Regions from separate parts of the Homo sapiens genome. Here region 2 is linked to region 1. Evidence: promoter capture Hi-C in 16 types of primary human blood cells and fetal thymus (Javierre and others, 2016). All regions are on one chromosome and are shown on one strand. Each heading gives the region's core, a stretch centred on a gene start or on the middle of the fragment in contact. The rest is flanking DNA. Distances are from core to core; before and after follow the strand shown. Region 1 holds the start of BMP6 (bone morphogenetic protein 6). Region 2 overlaps LY86 (lymphocyte antigen 86).

What was found. Contacts are between HindIII fragments. The CHiCAGO score rates a contact against its expected background, and 5 or more counts as called.
Region 2: a contact is called between a fragment that was not itself captured here and the fragment with the promoter of BMP6 in region 1, in 1 of 17 cell types (neutrophils). The highest score is 8.3, in neutrophils.

What each region holds. Positions count from the first base shown.
Region 1 is chr6:7,723,717-7,728,189 of GRCh38, reverse strand. BMP6 (bone morphogenetic protein 6) reads right to left here and starts at 2,091. Exons shown (of 7, transcript NM_001718.6): 1 at 571-2,091. The coding sequence starts at 1,234. The HindIII fragment of the contact is 3,909 bases long and covers 1-2,366 here.
Region 2 is chr6:6,652,305-6,656,777 of GRCh38, reverse strand. LY86 (lymphocyte antigen 86) reads right to left here. Exons shown (of 5, transcript NM_004271.4): 5 at 1,796-2,234. The coding sequence ends at 2,151. Among named protein-coding and RNA genes, the nearest start is that of LY86-AS1, 32 kb to the right of the region's middle. RefSeq lists a silencer at 2,731-2,921. The HindIII fragment of the contact is 4,773 bases long and covers 1-4,473 here.

The DNA.
Region 1 (4,473 bases), core at 842-3,341:
GGGACTTCCCTCTGCAACCTCCCCTAGTGCCGTGGATACCTCTAAACATACTCATGCCAAGTTTTCAAAGTTCCCAGCCGCTGTCGGATTCCCTAAAAGTCTCGGTGGGAAAACTGCACTCCAAGTTAGGGGGCAAAAGGCGGCAGTTTAGAGGGGAAAATCGTACTGAAGAGCCCTCTTCCCAGGATGGCCACACTCGGGCTGGACTCTCCTGCTGCAGTTGAGTTAACCTGGCCAGAGCTGGGCAGAAGTGAAAAAAAGCGCGGAACGTGCTCAGGGAGTCCGCAAATACACGCCCGCTGGGGACAGCGCTCCCGGAGCCCCGCGGCCCGGCCGGCCAGCCGCCTCTGGGGGCCTCGGCGCGCAGCCCTGCCCGCGGCGCGGGGGAGCGCATGTGCCGCCCACCGCCGCGCAGGTGGCGGGAGCACAGCCTGCCTGTCCCCGCGTTCTCTGGCGCACCAGGCGGGACCCGCGCGCCGGGAGCTCCTCCACCCCCTCACTCCATCCCCTGGGCCCGGGACACTGAAAAGGGGGAAATGTTCTCGTCATTACGTTACCCCAAATCCTTACCCAGGTTCACAAAGCTCATGACCATGTCCGCGTCGTTGAGGAAGGCGCTGTCCTGCGCGCTGGTCAGTGGGGACGCGCCGCCGCTGCCAGATCCGGGGGCCAGAAGGCTCTTGCGGTTGAGCGGGTGCGCGGCGCCCGGGGGCGGCTGCCGACGCTGGGACGAGCTGGCTGCTTCGTGGGGCCAGGACTGCTGCCTCTCCCCCTCCGACGCCCCGTCCTCGTCGTTGTCGGCGGACAGGGCGTTGTACAGATCCAGCATGAAGAGGGGCGCGGACTTCAGTCGCCCGGGAGGGGGCTCTCCGCGAGGCAGCTGCTGCTGCTGCTGCTGCTCCTCCTGCTGCCGGAGCGCCGGGGGCTGCGGCTGTTGGAGGCCGTGCAGGGGCCGGGGCCGGTGCGGGAGCCCCAGCACCGACAAGATCTCCTTCTGCATCTCCCGCTTCTCCTGCGTCTTGAGCCGCCGGTACAGGAAGCCCGAGGAGGACTGCGGCGACGGCGGCGGCTGCTCCGTGCGGCCGGGGCTCCCGCCGTCCCCCAGCAGCTGCCCCCCGGCGGCGGCGGCCGCGGCAGCGGGCAAGGGCGGCCGCAGCGGCGGGGGCCCGCAGCAGCTGCACAGCAGCCCCCACCACCAGCACAGCCACTGCGCCCTCCGCCCCAGCCCCGGCATCCCCGCCCGGCCGGGCTGCCCCCGCGGATCCCGCGAGGCGTGGAGCGGCGGAGCGAGGCCGGAGCGCGGCCGCTGTGGCCCTTGGCGTGAGCAGTCCCCGCCACCTCTCGGCGGGCTCGCTTCCCCTTCCTGGCCCTCAGTCCTTATCTCTCATGGTCGTCCGGGGCGCCCCCAGTTGCCCAGGCTAGAGAGGTGGCGAAGGGGCGATCACCAGGAGAACCGCTTGGAGGGGAGGAAGGGGAGCCTCACAGCCTCGCGCAGGTCTCTAGAGGCGCGCGGTCCAGGCCAGGTGCGTCTGAGTCCGGGCTGCACTGCAGCCTGCGCCCTGGCTCCTGCGAGTCGCGGCGCGGTCACTCTGGGCCTCGCTGGCCGCACACGTGCGCTGCCCCGCGCTCTCCCTGGCGACTGAGTGGGACCCGGGGCAGCGGGGAGCGGGGCCGCTCACGAGCTGCGGGAGATGCCCGGCATCACCGTGGCGCACGCCCCTCCCCAGATCGCAGGGCCACCATGAAGTTTACCCCGTTGCAGGGCCCAGGCTGCGGCGACAAGGCGTCCCGAAATGCCAGTCTATTCCGCGAGGTTTAACTTCCTTCTCGCTCACGAACTCCGCGCCCCTGAGCTCTCGGGCACCGTCGCTCCCACTCAAAATCTCCGCGCGCCGCACGCCTCCTCAAGCGGAGGCGGCGAGGATCTTGCTTTCCGTTCGGCGGTCGCCCGGCTGCCCAGCAAACCCGCTCGCAGAAAGGATGGGAAGGAAGGGGGCTAGTGCACCGAGCAGCGGCCGCGGCGGCGGCGCCGGAATTCGGTCTCCCGCCTCTCCACGCCGCGCTCCCCGCAGCGGCCAACGTGGGCTTTCTGCTGCGCGCCCGGCTCAGGTACCTCACTCCAGCCCCGGGACTCCCCGCCCCGCGGTAACCGACAGGCTGGCAGCCAATGGGGACGCGAAGCTCGCGGGCTATTTAAATAGCCCCGCCCCTTCTTTCACCCTCCCTCTCCCGAGAGGCGTCGCCTCCGCCGCGCGTAGGTTTCAAGACCCGGGAATTCTTGGAGGCATGCGAAGAGCCGCGAGGTGCCAAAGGCGAAGAGGTCATCGCTAGTAAGAATGATCTGACCAATACCCCGATCTGAAGCTTTCTCTTTTACCATCATTTAAAAGGCCTAAGTTGATGCTTTAACTAAATAAAAATAATAACAGCGATTAAATCACTATACTGCCAGAACTGAGGAAGAAAAGAAAAATGATAGCTTTTCCATCCCTTCCTTAGTTTCTCTTATTGATGTAATGTAGGCGTTTAGCGGACACGTGGCTTTCCACGGCAGCTGCTGGAAGTTGGGACACACCCTCCGGGGAGGCTACTCACAAACTGACCACAGAGAGGGCCACATGTAACCCAAGCCAGCGTCCTGAGGGTTTGGGGTCGGATGTGTTGACTTCTCTGTTCATTTGTGCTTTGGTTTGGCTTCTTAAGCTAGCACCCAAAAGAAAGAGGGTGTAATCAGACGATATATTAGAAAAGGCGTCCCCTGTCTTCTTGGAAATGTCTTGATTCTCCAGCTTATCTATTAATGTTGCATTTTAATATTGAAATACAATGTGACTTATATGGTGCAAGATAAAACTTGAGGAGAGGTGATAAAGATAACTCCAGGAAGAGCAGGGGCTTGGCATGCATTCTGAATGGTCAGGACAATAGACAGGGTCCTGAAACACAGGTTCCTGTGGATTTTAGACAAGATAACACCACCACCAACACCATTTGCCAATGAGGACACAAATTCATTTGCCTTTACCCCGCCCGAGAACATCCAGTCATCTATGGATCGTAGAAGCAAATTCACGTAAAACATGAAGGTTTTTTACTTGGTGAAAATTGTGTGGAGTTGAAAATAAAAACTGCAATTTTCTGACTTGCCAGCCTTAGTCCAAATGGTCCTAGGCATTTGAGAGTGAAGTCAAATAGATTATAGACTGTGGGATTCATGAATTTATGAGATCATAGGCTTTCTGTTGGTCCAAATCTTATAAGCATTCCTATCCTATTTCCAAGAATCTATTTCTCATGGGTAAATAGAGACCACCACTGACTCCAACTACCCACTGAGTCCTTCTTTCTAGTTCTGCCTTGGCCCAGACACAAGTGGTCATTTAGAAGAGTCTTTATTTCTACAAATATCTGATAGCTATGAATTTCAGGGCACAAAACTTATGTGAATGCCAGTCTTTAACCATCTCTACAGGGATTTCTTCCATCCGAAAAGATAATACGATACTTTGTCTGGGATGCCCGGACCCTCAGAATTCAAGAGCCCTGTCACTTCTTTTTTCTGTAGGGAACATGTTAGGGACATAAATTCACTGCAGTGCCCCACAGCAGCCAAGAGCTCTGCTCAGAAGATCTGAAATTCCAGCAAATACACCTAGGCTTCCTGCCAAGAGCCTCCTTTTTTAAACCTAGTTGCACCTTCCTCATAAGACTTCTGGTGAGATGCAGGCAGAGTAAAAGACTTTCTACCTACGAGGGCAGTGGGGAAGACACAGGAAACTCAACATTTCAAGCATGGATGAGGGCACCTTGGTGGGGCTATGTCATTTAAAACACAAAATCGAGGGGTGACCCACCTATTGTAGAGGTTGAGCATCCCTAACCCAAAAATCTGACATCCAAAATGCTCCAAAATCTAAAGATTTCTGAGAGCTGACATGATGCCTCAGATGGAAAATTCCACACCTGACCTCATAGGATGGGACATGGTCAAAACACAGTCAAAATTTTCATCCACAAAATCATTTGAAATATTGTATTAAATTACCTTCAGACTATGTATATGAGATATATACGAAACATAAATGAATTTCATGTTTAGACTTGGATCCCATCCCTAAGGTATCTCATTATGTATATGCAAATATTCCAAAATCTAAAAATCTGAAATTTGAAATACTTCTGGTCCCAAGCACTTTGGATAAGGGATACTCAACTTGTGTATGCATCTATGGGGTGGACCTAGTGCAGAAGACACACACACACATGCACACACACGCACGCCATCTCTCCCTTTCCTTAGACACTAAGAAGTAGATGGGTTCATGTGACATGAGTCTAAAGTGACTATCAACTAAACATCTGAGCAGCAACTCTGATTCAGGTCTGTTGCAGGCTCCTCACTCCACCAAGATGGATTCTCAGTTTCTGTCGAATGGGGCTAGAATGAGGAGGTGTCGAGAGTACCTCCAGGTG
Region 2 (4,473 bases), core at 1,034-3,533, 1.1 Mb after region 1:
ATGTCTGAAGCTGGCTGATTTTCATAATAATTCCTTAATTGTGGCAGCACTGCATCATCCTGAACCAAGCTGTTTTTTTTTTTTTTTTCTTCAGAAGAGTTTATTGAGGACACATTTTTGGAGTTGTTGATAGTGATTTTTGAAACAGTAGCAATTCTCTTTACAGGAGAAGTCAATTTAGTTTGATAGATTGTCTGGGCACTTTGACCCCACCCCAGCCAGTAACCACACAATGGCTAGCCTGAGAGGGCTCGGCTTGGGGTCACCCACCTCCCCTGACAACCCTGCTTCCTGGGCTGGCCCTTTCAAAGTCATCTTAGTTACTACATCCTGCCAGAGTGTTAAATAATGACAGACTCTAGCGTTTCTCCTAGCAGGGCTGTTCGTATTCCAAGAGGAGACTCCTGAACATTGAAATATGTTTTCAACTTGCTGGAATAAAACTAATGGTGAAATTTAAGGCCCATGACAGGACACTAAGAAAAGACATATTCTGGGACAAAGAAACATTTTTTTTTCTCTCAAATCATGTCCTTAGTGAAACGGCTGTGTACTTGTATATTCAGCTATGACTAGGATAGTCTCCATATATGGAAATTCCAGTTTAACACAAACCTATAGCATCTGAAACTTTCTCTCTCCCTCCCTCTCTCTCTCACGCACACGCACCCACACAGTCAATTTAAAGAAGAGGGCAAAGGGATTGGGAAGGGACTGGCTGAGTTCCACCTGTGTCTTTGGAAGGCTGTGACAGCTGTCTTGTACTGTTAGAACATGTGCGTACACAGAGTCTAGCCAGGGACTTTACTACTTGTGGTGATGGTTACTGAAAAGGGAGAGAGGTGAATGTCTCAAGCTAGAGGGAATGGCCAGGGGCAGGAATCATTTGCTATTCTTGTGCGTAACACCGTCACCCCCATGTACGTTCAGAGGTTTGCTCCTGAGCCTAGTATGACCACGCACGTCTTTTCCCTCGAGCATTATGGGCCTAGGCAAGGACGCTGCTGCAATTTTGCCTGCTCATAACCCAGAAAACCTCAGATGCTGGTTTTAAAGTTTGACAGGCATTTTTGACCTGCTATTCTAGGTGGTTTACTGATGTATAAACAGTGATTAATAGCAACTACTGTTTTTTAAACTATGGAATTTTTTTCTCTTTTAATCTCTAATATAGTGGCATTTTTATGAATGATAGTGTCAACTCACCCACCTTACTCCAGCCCCTTAGCAGGAGCAAGAGGGCCAGCAGGGACACTGGAAGGACAGGGGCGTCGGATGGTGAAGGGGCTATGCAGCCCACCATGCGATCAGTGCATCCCAGGAGAGAAGACGGGGCCGCAGAAATGGCTCTGGAAGTAGCATGGGCAACATGCTCATTTACGGAGAGCATCGTAGAAGACAACTTAAGAACACAGCACCTGATACACATTAAGTGTTCAGGAGTTATTCCTTGCATTCATTAATGAATGCAGTAATGAACGCCAGCATATGCTGAGGTCAAGTGTAATCATGCTTTGAGGGATGAAGGTGAAATGAATGTTTGGATAAGCGAGAGTATGATGTCCCTATTCGTGAGGTTGCATCAGCTTCTCGGCCCTCATGGTCCAAGGGTGGGGGCCTGCCCAGGAGAAGCAATGGCACATTTTCCCAGTGTTCTAATTTTAGCCAGGCTGTCACCCTCCTGAATTTCTTGGAACTGCTTATGCTGCACCAGCATCCGGCACTGTATCTGGAGGAAATGACTTTTTAACTACAGCATTGTAGTAAGATTCTTTGAACAAACCACAATGAACAATGGTGGCCAGCTTTCTTTATTCTTGGTAACTGTGAGGAAGCACTCCTAAAAAGTTGAAAAGCAGGTGAGTCTGGTGGGAGGCGACCAATTAGAGAAAAAGGATGGACCCTCAAGACTGCTTAAGGACTGCCAAGAGGCTCCTTAGAAACAGATACATTCGGGGACTTCATTACATCTGTGGAGTCTGGGGATGTCTGGTCCTGGGACTAAAATTAGCAGCTGCACTCTTTGGGGGCGCTTCTTTGTAGAGCCTCTCTCTGTCATCAGCTGCTTCTCCTCCCACAGTAGGTTCAGTCAGAGGAGCTTGGAGGTCCCACGAGATGCAGCTGGCTGTGATTTTTGCTACAGGCCACAGTCAGGAGCACATGATAGTAGCATTGGCACAGGCCACGGTGGACCGTTTTTCAGTGTACAGTTCCAGCAAAACCTGGTATTCTCCCTGCAAGGGGCACAGGTCAAGTATTAGACGTGTGACCCACAGTACAATTAACCATTTAACAAATATTTACAGAGAAACTTTTATGTGCTGGGTGCTGTTCTGGACATTGTGGATAACGTAGAACAAGACAAGCCAACCCCTGCCCTGTGGAGCTGACAGCATCTCTGGGAGAGACAGACCACCCTTATGATATGTGACTATGTATGGTGTGTCAGGTGCTCATGTCATGGAGAAAACTCATGCAGGAAGGGAGTGGATGGAAGCACTGGATGGGTCAAGGCAAGTGCTGGTCTGCAATTTTGAGCAGGGTGGTGAAAGGAGGCCCTGCTGAGACGACGACATTTAGGCAAAGACCTGAAGCAGATGCAAGAAGGTGCAGTGCTGCTATGGGCTGGGGCCCCCACCTTAGAGGGGCAGAAGGAGGCCAGTGGGGCTGCAGGGAGTGGGGGGATGGGGGGGGTGAGGTAAGGGCAACACAGGAGGCCAGACTCTTAGGGCCTCAAAGGCCATGGTGGGGACATCAGCTTCCACTCTGAAAGGGACTCTGGTCAGGAGAGGGTGGCCTGCCCTGGCGCCTGTGTCGGTAAGATCCCTCTGGCTGCCTCACTGAAAAGCCCAGATGGGAGGCGATTGCAGGAATCCAGGTGAGAGATGAAGATGACTTGGAGTAGAGGTGGAGGTGGGGGAAGGCTTTGGGTGCCAGAGAGATTTTGAAAGAACAGCCAATAGGATCCGCTGAGGAAACGCAAGTGGGTGGGAGAGAAAGAAATGGGTTAAAGGTGACTCCAAGGCTCCTGGCCTGAGCAACTGGAAGGAGAAAGGTTTGTATGCTCAGACAGAGAAGACCCCGGGGAGCACAGTTCACCAGCACAAAACCAAAATGCACCATCACAGAAAGAATGGCTGCCTTTGGGGATCCTTGCTGGCAGCAACACTGTAAGGAGGTCTCCCTTCCTTTGCAGTCAGCTTGGCAGAAGCCACCTGGCAGCCAGGTCCTATGAGGACTGTAGAAGAGCCATTCTGGTTTTGTTTGCTGCCAGCACCCCAGTCCTGCACCCCAGCAGCCACGGAGCGGTGATGTGTTTGTAGACACGAATCTGGAGAGGAAAATGCTCTGGGGTGGTTGGAGGGTCGCAAGCGGAGCAGAGGGACTGTGGCAGAGGAGGCCAGGAGACTGCTGGCACATCTTTGAACTGCCTGTCACCCAAAGGAGGAAAGAGTTTAATCTGTATAAAGCAAGAGGGAAGGAGTAGGTGAGACCACCGGAGAGAAGCTGCATGAAAGGTGGCTTTTGTTAGAAGGGAGCAACTTTCTAGCAATGAGCAGAGCTTCCAAAGAGAGTGGAGTCCCCAACACTGAAATTGTATTCAAGAGAACCAGGCTGTGCTCTGGATGGTGCCTTGGGTGTGATTCCATGATTCTAGACGCTCCCATGAGTCACACTCCTCAAATATTGAGCAGCTGTAATTTTAGAAATAGTGTTAGGAATATAACCAAAGCAGTCCAAATGTTAGAGAATTAATTATGAGTAAAGACCGGCTCAAATTTATATCTCGTTGTGTTTCATCGTTCTCTTCCTCCTCATGTACTTTTCTTTAAAATCTCTATGTGCATTTAGACACACACCTACAAATGTATTGAACAACACAAGAATTTTTCATTACTACATTATGAACCTAAGAGGAGCTGTTGTATTTGAAGGAAGGGGTTCTAGATTATGAATTACAGATATCACAGACTCTGGTATAAGAGATAAGAATATTTAGGCAAGCGTGCCAGGCTGGAGGCAGATGGAGGTGTGTGCTGGGAGGCCAGGAGGCCAGGGTAGGGAAGGACTGAGTGCAGCGTTTCTGCTGTTGAGGAGGGCACAGAGTTTGTAAGTTAGGAATTTGTAGGTGCACCTTTGGCAATACATGGGTCAGGCTGTGCCTACAAGTTGTTGTCCACATGCTTCGGGAGCCCAAAGGATCCCCTAAATTTTCATTCAGAAAGCAGGAGGCATAGACAGAGGACAGCAGGTAGGGCTTCAATCCGGGCCAAGGGGTTGGATGAGTTCAGAGGGAAATAATACCAAGACCCTGGAGAATGATCGCTGAGTGGGAGCGTTTTTGGCCACATGGGAACTGCCATTAGCCCAGAGCCCATCTCTGGAGGATTTAGCTGGAGGAGGGGATATGGGGTACGTCTTTTACAACCAAAAGTCTTTGAACTGTGTCTGTTCCATATTAAGAAAGCAAAG